Regions from separate parts of the Homo sapiens genome. Here region 2 is linked to region 1. The links are contacts of gene promoters, found by promoter capture Hi-C in human tissues and cell types (Jung and others, 2019). All regions are on one chromosome and are shown on one strand. The core of a region is centred on a gene start or on the middle of the fragment in contact, and the rest is flanking DNA. Distances in the headings are between cores, read along the strand shown.

What was found. The method cuts DNA at HindIII sites, captures the fragments that hold promoters and counts their contacts. A contact is called where the count stands out against the background at its distance.
Region 2: a fragment that was not itself captured here is called in contact with the fragment with the promoter of LRRIQ3 in region 1 in 1 of the 25 tissues and cell types used here (dorsolateral prefrontal cortex).

The regions. Positions count from the first base shown.
Region 1 is chr1:74,196,298-74,200,176 of GRCh38, forward strand. It overlaps LRRIQ3 (leucine rich repeats and IQ motif containing 3), which reads right to left and starts at 1,879. Exons shown (of 8, transcript NM_001105659.2): 1 at 1,699-1,879. It overlaps FPGT-TNNI3K (FPGT-TNNI3K readthrough), which reads left to right and starts at 1,945. Exons shown (of 27, transcript NM_001112808.3): 1 at 1,945-2,063; 2 at 3,367-3,534. The coding sequence starts at 1,982. FPGT (fucose-1-phosphate guanylyltransferase) reads left to right here and starts at 1,945. Exons shown (of 4, transcript NM_003838.5): 1 at 1,945-2,063; 2 at 3,367-3,534. The coding sequence starts at 1,982. RefSeq lists a silencer at 1,783-1,882. The HindIII fragment of the contact is 10,329 bases long and covers 1-3,879 here.
Region 2 is chr1:74,485,427-74,489,305 of GRCh38, forward strand. It overlaps FPGT-TNNI3K (FPGT-TNNI3K readthrough), which reads left to right. Exons shown (of 27, transcript NM_001112808.3): 24 at 3,763-3,822. It overlaps TNNI3K (TNNI3 interacting kinase), which reads left to right. Exons shown (of 25, transcript NM_015978.3): 22 at 3,763-3,822. All of the region lies in intron 1 of LRRC53 (leucine rich repeat containing 53), which reads right to left. Among named protein-coding and RNA genes, the nearest start is that of LRRC53, 25 kb to the right of the region's middle. The HindIII fragment of the contact is 3,211 bases long and covers 6-3,216 here.

The DNA of each region.
Region 1 (3,879 bases), core at 629-3,128:
ATTTGGTTACTTCTTCCTTCTTTATTTCACCTTATTAGAATATACAGACCCCAAACATATAGGCTCTGCTGACCTTCACTCCCTTGGGACCTCACTTAGTTCCACAGTTAAAATTAATTCTATCTTCTTGCTGACAATTCCCAAAATTGTATCTCTAGCCCAGACCTCTCTCCTGAATTCTAGACTCGTATGTATAATGCATACAGACACATACACACACAAACTTCCATTACATATTCACTGCATACACATGTCTCTTTATTCCACATGTCCAAAATCAAATTCTGGACCCTATTACCCCAAAAACCTTCCTCAGTCGGAAACTTACCCATCTTAATTGATGGCCAATCCATCCCAAGGCAGTCATTTTGACTCCTCTTTTTCTCTTACAGTCCACACCCATTAATTCCATCAGCACATTTTATTGTTTTTGTCTTAAAAATATATCCAGAATCTGACCAACTTCTCACCATTCCCACTGCTACCATCCTGGTCAAGCCTTCACCAGCTCTCACCTGCAATATTGCAGTAACCTCCAAAGAAGTCTCCCTGCTTCTATCATTGCCTCATCCCCCATTATAATCTATTCTCCTATCTCCGAGTGATCTCTTTAAACATAAGCCAAGTCACTTCAAAACCCTGCAATGGCTTTGTTTCCCTCAAGAGTAAAAACCAAAATTCTTCCTATGGCCCTTTGTTCTCTCTCTGACCTTCTCTCGCTACTTTCTCCTTTGGTTACTTTCACTCAAGTCTCTGTATTTTCTAAATGTTCTTCAATAAGATACTGTTTTTTTAATTAATGAAGTTTTAAATGTAAAACTATGAAAGAGTAATCTAATCTGCCATTTTATCCAAATGTTTCCACTATTAGAACACGATTGTATAACAAGTCTGAGAAGAAAAACTAAGTAAATTTATGACAAGAGTTTATGGTGCCCTGAATGTCTACGTACCTAATGAAGACGTTGATACAGAGAAATCGTCTCAAAAAATCAAACGGTATGGTGAAATACCACAAGTTCTGGGTTTGGGATTGAAATATATTTCTTAAATCTTTTATTACTTACTAATTGTGATACCTTGACTAACTCACTATTCTCTGATTCAGTTTTCTTCTGTGTAAAGATGAAGTGGTCTGTAAAACCAAGAAACCTCGTGTTCTATAACAGGAACACCTTTATATAGCTACCCAAAAAAACACCTAAAAAGGCTGACTTATTCCTAAGAGTGTTATTGAACATTCTAGATTAATCTGCATATACAAAAGAATGCCAGAGAAGAAACCAAAATACCAAAAATATTTGGAGCCTGGTTGCGGACTGAATTTTATACAACTTTCAAAGACACTATTTGAGAGGCTGTCGTGTGTAGCCTACTAAGAAAAAACAGAGGGGTGGGGTGGCTCACTCTCTAGGAACCACAAACTTAAGGTTCCTAGAAAGAGCAGAGATTTTAAATATTCAGACTGTGTATGTATCATGACCCAGGGTTGGGGGCAGATGGCCCGGGGTGGCGGGGGAAAGGAGAGATGGCGGAGATCTTCTATCAGGCTATCCTGGGGAACTGCTCCAGGCTGAAACAAACCACCAGTTAGGACGAACCGCCTTTGATGTGAAAGCTGGGAAGCTAGAATGTAGTTTCGCCTTATCCTTAGCGGGTCGGTTCTAACAATTTTGTCACCCAAACTGAACCACTCACCGGGTCAACTGGGCTGCAAGCCCTTATGAGTTGGAGACAAGTGGCCCAGCCCCAACACAGTCAGACAAATCGCTGGGCGGCCATCTGCTCCTGAGACCGTTGCTAGAGAAACAAGACAACATCCAAGTTCTCCACATCATGGTTTTCCGGGCGCCAGCCAAGGCGCTCCGGGGGCGTGGTTACGTGGGCGACGCACGGAGGGGGCGGGTCAGAAACAACCGGGCGGAGGCGCACCCCAGGGCGCATGCGTGCTGTGCGGCGCGGTCTCAGGGAAGGTGGGGCTATGGCAGCTGCTAGGGACCCTCCGGAAGTATCGCTGCGAGAAGCCACCCAGCGAAAATTGCGGAGGTTTTCCGAGCTAAGAGGTACCAGAGAAGGCACCGGAGTTCTCCTGGGCAATGCAGAGGGAGGGTGCTTTTACGTGCCAGGAGGTTTGCTGGACTGTCACTTCCCGTTTACTTCTCATCTGTAGGCCTATGACGCTCCCCAGGAGTAGCTAGCTAATAATCCTTTTGAGTTTTTTATTCTTTTCACTGTCCCTGCTTGACATGCTTGTTGCTTACTTTATTCTTAGTAGTATAGATATTAAAAATGAGGGCGGAGGAAGAAGAAGAAAATCTTACTAGTGAAGTTATGCATTGATTAGCTCATTAATAAAAGTTGCTTTAAATAAATCTAAAAGATACGAAGCACAGTATTTTGAACTTTATGAGTAGATGCCAGCCCCCTATCTACTTCACGCTTTACATTACGTTCATCTACTTCTGTAATGTAACCGTTTGTTGAGGGAGTAACAGAACATGGAGGAATTATGGATTAAAAATTAAAAGGAAGAAATTTGTTATCAAAAAATTGGCTATGACACTTAATCCCTGTACACCTGTCTAATAAAAGTGATTATATTTGTGTTGCAGTGACTGCTTAAAAAATACTGGGACTAATTCTTGGATAACAGTAAAACTTTCAGGACTATTAGATTCTAGCTGACAAGTTCTGTTTGTTAACTAATTAAAATGCTAAATCATTTTGTTTATCAATAAAGAGATTCCAACTGTCTACTAAAAGTGCACACTGTCTTTTAAAGATGTCATCAGAGAGTTGGGACCTTCTGTTATCCAGAATTTTATGTTATATTCTAACAGCCTATGTAAGTTTGCATGGTTCATCTTAAAGTAATAGAAAATAAAGTACCCACATTTATAAACAGCAACATTGAGGGAAGGGATCTTTGGGTTGTGTCTTTCTTAGTCACCTAACACCAAGTGTCCGTGATACATAAGAATTGATTTGCAAAGCTGGAGATTTGTTTATGTTTATCTCCTCTTCTTATTGAAGAATTGAGGCAATAGTCTTTGGCAAGTTAAAAGTCGCTCTCTTAATCAAGAAACATTATGTCATTCAGAATTTATAATTAAATTGGATTGCAAACCATAAAAGGAGGGAGTGATCTAAAAGAAAAAAAAGGAACTTGTGAACAGTCTTCATTATAACTATTTTGAATCGTATTAATGCACCACTAATTATTCCCTAACTTTCAAAAGCCAAAGATACATTTTGGAAGATGATAATGGATATTACCTTCTTTATCATCTTTCTCAATAGGCAAACCTGTGGCAACTAGAAAATTCTGATAATTTTTGTTTTCATTTCCTTGCTTTTTCCAAATAGGCAAACTTGTAGCACGTGGAGAATTCTGGGACATAGTTGCAATAACAGCGGCTGATGAAAAACAGGAACTTGCTTACAACCAACAGCTGTCAGAAAAGCTGAAAAGAAAGGAGTTACCCCTTGGAGTTCAATATCACGTTTTTGTGGATCCTGCTGGAGCCAAAATTGGTACGCGCTTTATGGTCAGTTTTATAATATAGGTCCTAAGCAGAATAATCATTGAAGAAAAGGTTTCTGTGACTTACAGTGTATAAGCTGCATATCTCTACCCACAGCTTTACAAACTTTAAAATTTGAACATAAATTGACTTTTTTTAGAAAGATAAAAGGAATAGCAACTGTTCTTACCCATTATGACTTACCTTGAAAAACTTCCAGAATGTTACTTAAAAGAAAATTTTATTAGTTTTAATGAAATTCACACTATTCAGATAGGAATACTCCTTTGGACCTTATCAGTAGAACCCTTGAGGTCCTCTCCACTCCAGAGTTCCTCCAGCAATTTACATGAAG
Region 2 (3,879 bases), core at 361-2,860, 290 kb after region 1:
TTTACACACAGACTCCAGGGCTTTTTCCAGGATCTCCTCTCATTCTCTACTGCGTATTTGTGATAAGCAGGATTCTAACATGACCTGCAAGATTCCTGTCCCCTGGTGTACATGCCATGTAGAATACCCTGTCCTTCAGTGTGGGCAGAACCTGTGAATATGATGAGATATTACTCCCATGATTATGTTTCATCATATGACTAAAGGAAGATTATCCCAAGTGGGTCTGACCTAACTGGGTGAGCCCTTCAAAAGCAGAATAAGTTTTACAGCTGGTCACAGAGTGGAAGTCAGGCATGTGCCCTTGCCGGTTAGGAAAAAAGCAAATAGCCATGTTGTGAACTGCCTATTTGGCAAGCAGCTGTAGGCATCCTCTAGAATTTGAGAGTCATTTCTGGGCAACAGATGGCAAGAAAACAGACATGTGTCATACAACCACAAAGAAATCAGTACTGCCAACAACCAATGCGCTTAAAAGAGGCCTTGAGCCTCAGATGAGAATCACAGTGCCTGCTGACTCCTTGATTTCAGCCTAGTGAAACTCTGAGCAAAGGACCCGGCTAATCTATACTGGACTCCTGACCAGTGGAAACTGAGATAAAAAATGAACATTGTTTTAAATCACTAGGTTTATGGTAATTTGTTATAAAACAATAACTAATACACTCCAGTTGCCCTGAATTCTGTCCTCTGTTCCTTCAAACAAGCAAACCATCAGAATTTTAATTGTTTCCTAAAATGCAGAAGTGGTCTACCCTCAGGCTAAATGCTATAAAGAGAGAGAGAGAGAGAGAGAGAGAGAGAGAGGTGGGAAATATACTAGTTCCTTTCTTCTAAGTGACTCACTCCCCTCCAGGATCTACTTGCTTTTATTAACTTTCCAGTGCCTTCAGGTAGCTGTCATTTACATTTTGTCCAGAGTTTCTCGTTGTTTTCTGTAGGAGGGTTGATCTAATATAAGCTACTTGATCATTCAGATACTGAATGGTAGTATCAATATAATTTGCTGGTATATAAGAGTAAAGTATGATAGAGTAGTCAAACATCATCACTTTTTTTGTGTGTGTTTTTTGTTTTTTGCTTTTTTTTTTTTTGCCTCTGCAAGCAGAAGGATGGAGTTTCCATTTACTGAAATGGGAAAGGCTATAAATATAATTAATTGCATGTATGAGTTTAGAGTTCAGGAGAAAGTACTGGGCTAGAGATAATAATCTGGAAGTTGTTTTTTAAAGACATAAGACTGAATTAACTCCTCAACAAATTAATTTTAAAGGGTAAAGAGACTCAAAGACTGAGTCTTGGGGCAATAAAAAGCTTAAAGATAAGGAGGAGAGATGAAACCAAAAGAGGAGACTAAGAAGAAGCCAATGAGCGCAGAAAAAAATAAAATAAGAAAATGGTGTCCTCAAAGCCAATTGAAAAACATGTTTCAGGGACAAAGGAATTGTTGCTTATATTTAATGCTATGCCAAGTGAAATGACCACTGAGATGTAACCATTGAATTTAGCAATGAGATCTTTGTAACCTTGACAAGGGCAGTTTCAGCAGTGTTGTAGGAGAAAGCTTGATTAGGATGGATTGCAAATGGGAGAAGGGGAATTAGAGACCGCAAATTTGGATAACTCTAGAACAATTTTGCTGTAAAGTAAACAGCAATGGAACAGTAGCTTGAAGGAGGACGTTAAGGGTTTTATTTTGCTGTTTGTTTTTAAGATAGGAGAATGTATAGTATGTCTGTATGCTGGTGGAGATTAAACAATACAGAAGGAACATGAACGATGCAAAAAAAAATGGATGAGAGAATTATTGCTGGAGCACACAAGTGAAGGAGTTGGCCTGAGAATCAGGCAAATTTCATCCACAGAAACAAAAGTGAGGGCAAATTATGTAGGTCATAGGTGAGTAGGTCAATGTAGTAGTGGGAGCTAGAGGTTTAGGAGAGAGGAAAAGGTACAAAATAGCCATCCGAAGTGTGAGAGAGTGAATGGACTAGAAATATGTAATAGGCTCTCTGAATAGTACTGACGGTCCATGGGAGATTAGAGGGTCAAGATTTTGAAGTGAGACCAGGCAGAATGGATTCAATAAAGTTTAGGATTCTTTCAGTACTGTACCAAATGCAAGATGAAGCAAGGGAGTTGAGGATGTGTGGAAGGGAGTGATAGTTGGAAGTGAATCTAATGATAAATGTAAATGAAATATAAGGTAAAGGGAAAGTGAGTGACAGCGAAAAGATGATGAAGTGAGCAAAAAAACAAGTAGGGAAAAAGATAGGCAGATGGGTAGGTAGGTAGAAAGAAGAGCATCTACTTTAGGACATATTTGGAACTGCTCGTAATAAAAAGCTCTTGTTTTATTTTGTTTTGTTTTAAGTGGTAAAATGGCTTCCAAGTACCAGTGTGATCAAAGCTTGTTGGAGTCAGGTTTCTAGAGGAAGTGAGGTAGAGAGAAAGGGACAGCTCAGAGAGTTGTCTGATAAAGATTGAGAGGTTAAAGAGCATGGAGGGGTGGAGGCATTGGTCATGACAGGGTCTAGGGTATAACTAAGGGGCTGAGTGACTAAAGGAGTTTGGAGGACAAGCTCATTGGAGAAGAGTAGGCAAAGGAACCCAGAGGTCAGGCTATTTTAATGATCATTTGCATGGATAATAAAAGTACAAAGAGTAGTGTTAGAGAGTATGAAGTAAGCCAGTTTTTAAAATCCCCAAAGAATGAGGGGGTGTGGCTAGACTCTGGTGGTATAGCCTGACAAGCTGGTGGTGTTTAGAGGAGAAACCATTTGGAAGTAGCAGTGACAGCAAGGAAGACACAGGGTTTTGCTCACTCCACTGCTCCCACTGCTCCCACTGCCCCCACCAACCTAGAGATACAAGGAGTATGTGAGAGGAAACAGCTTATAAGGGAAGCAGTGTTCTCAGGGGTGGGCTAGATAGTAAGGGAGAAATTGTTCTACTAAGAATCTAAATTATTTGGTTACTGAACCTGAATGTTAAATTGGGCTCTCCACCTCCTGGCAGTGAAAGTTTCAAAAAAGGAGAAATGATAGGGTGTATAGTTTTAGGATCTGACAAAAGAAGACAATTTTCTCAGAAGAGGCCAACATTTTCTAAAATTCCAAGAATTTTTCCAATAATCATTTTTATATCCCTTGCAACTGGAACAAAGCTTGAAATATATTTGGAATAAACTTTTTTTTAACCAAACTCGTCTGACACAGAGGTTCATAATGGGCAATATTTTTAATGGCACTGTCTGAAGGTAAAAAGCTTACCTTAAACCCTAAAGTAAGGCATAGTCCTGAGGTTTCTATCATCATCTTAGTTTTGAATCTGAGATGATCTTTTCAAAAGTGAAGTTCATTATAAATCTAGCCTTAGCAGTTCTTTTTATACACAGTGTGCAGTGTATTACAAGGCACTGAGATAGTTAATAGTTTTTAGTATTCACTATTATTCTTTCATTTTGAAGAGGAAACCTGCCATTTAAAAACATGCAAAGCTAATTAAAGCTTTTCCACTATTTCATTATCTGAATGTAGTTGCAAATTCTGACTTAAAACTCTTATCAGAGGGAGACTCAACATCTCTCCATGAACAGCAAATGAACATTCAATTAACACTTCAATAAAAGTGTATTTTAAATAAAAATATACTTTATTGTTAATCTCATTCTTTACAAATGCTAATACCCAATTTTAACATCCAAAGAGAGTCTCCTTCCTTTTATTCTTAAGGGAAAAAAGTTCTTTTTTCTATTTACAGGGAAGACCCGAATTTTCTGAAGTTGTCATGAAGTTAGAAGAGTGTCTCTGCAACATTGAGGTAAAAGCTTTAGCTTCTGAAATATGTCCATAAAAAAGCCCTGCATATCCAAGGCTG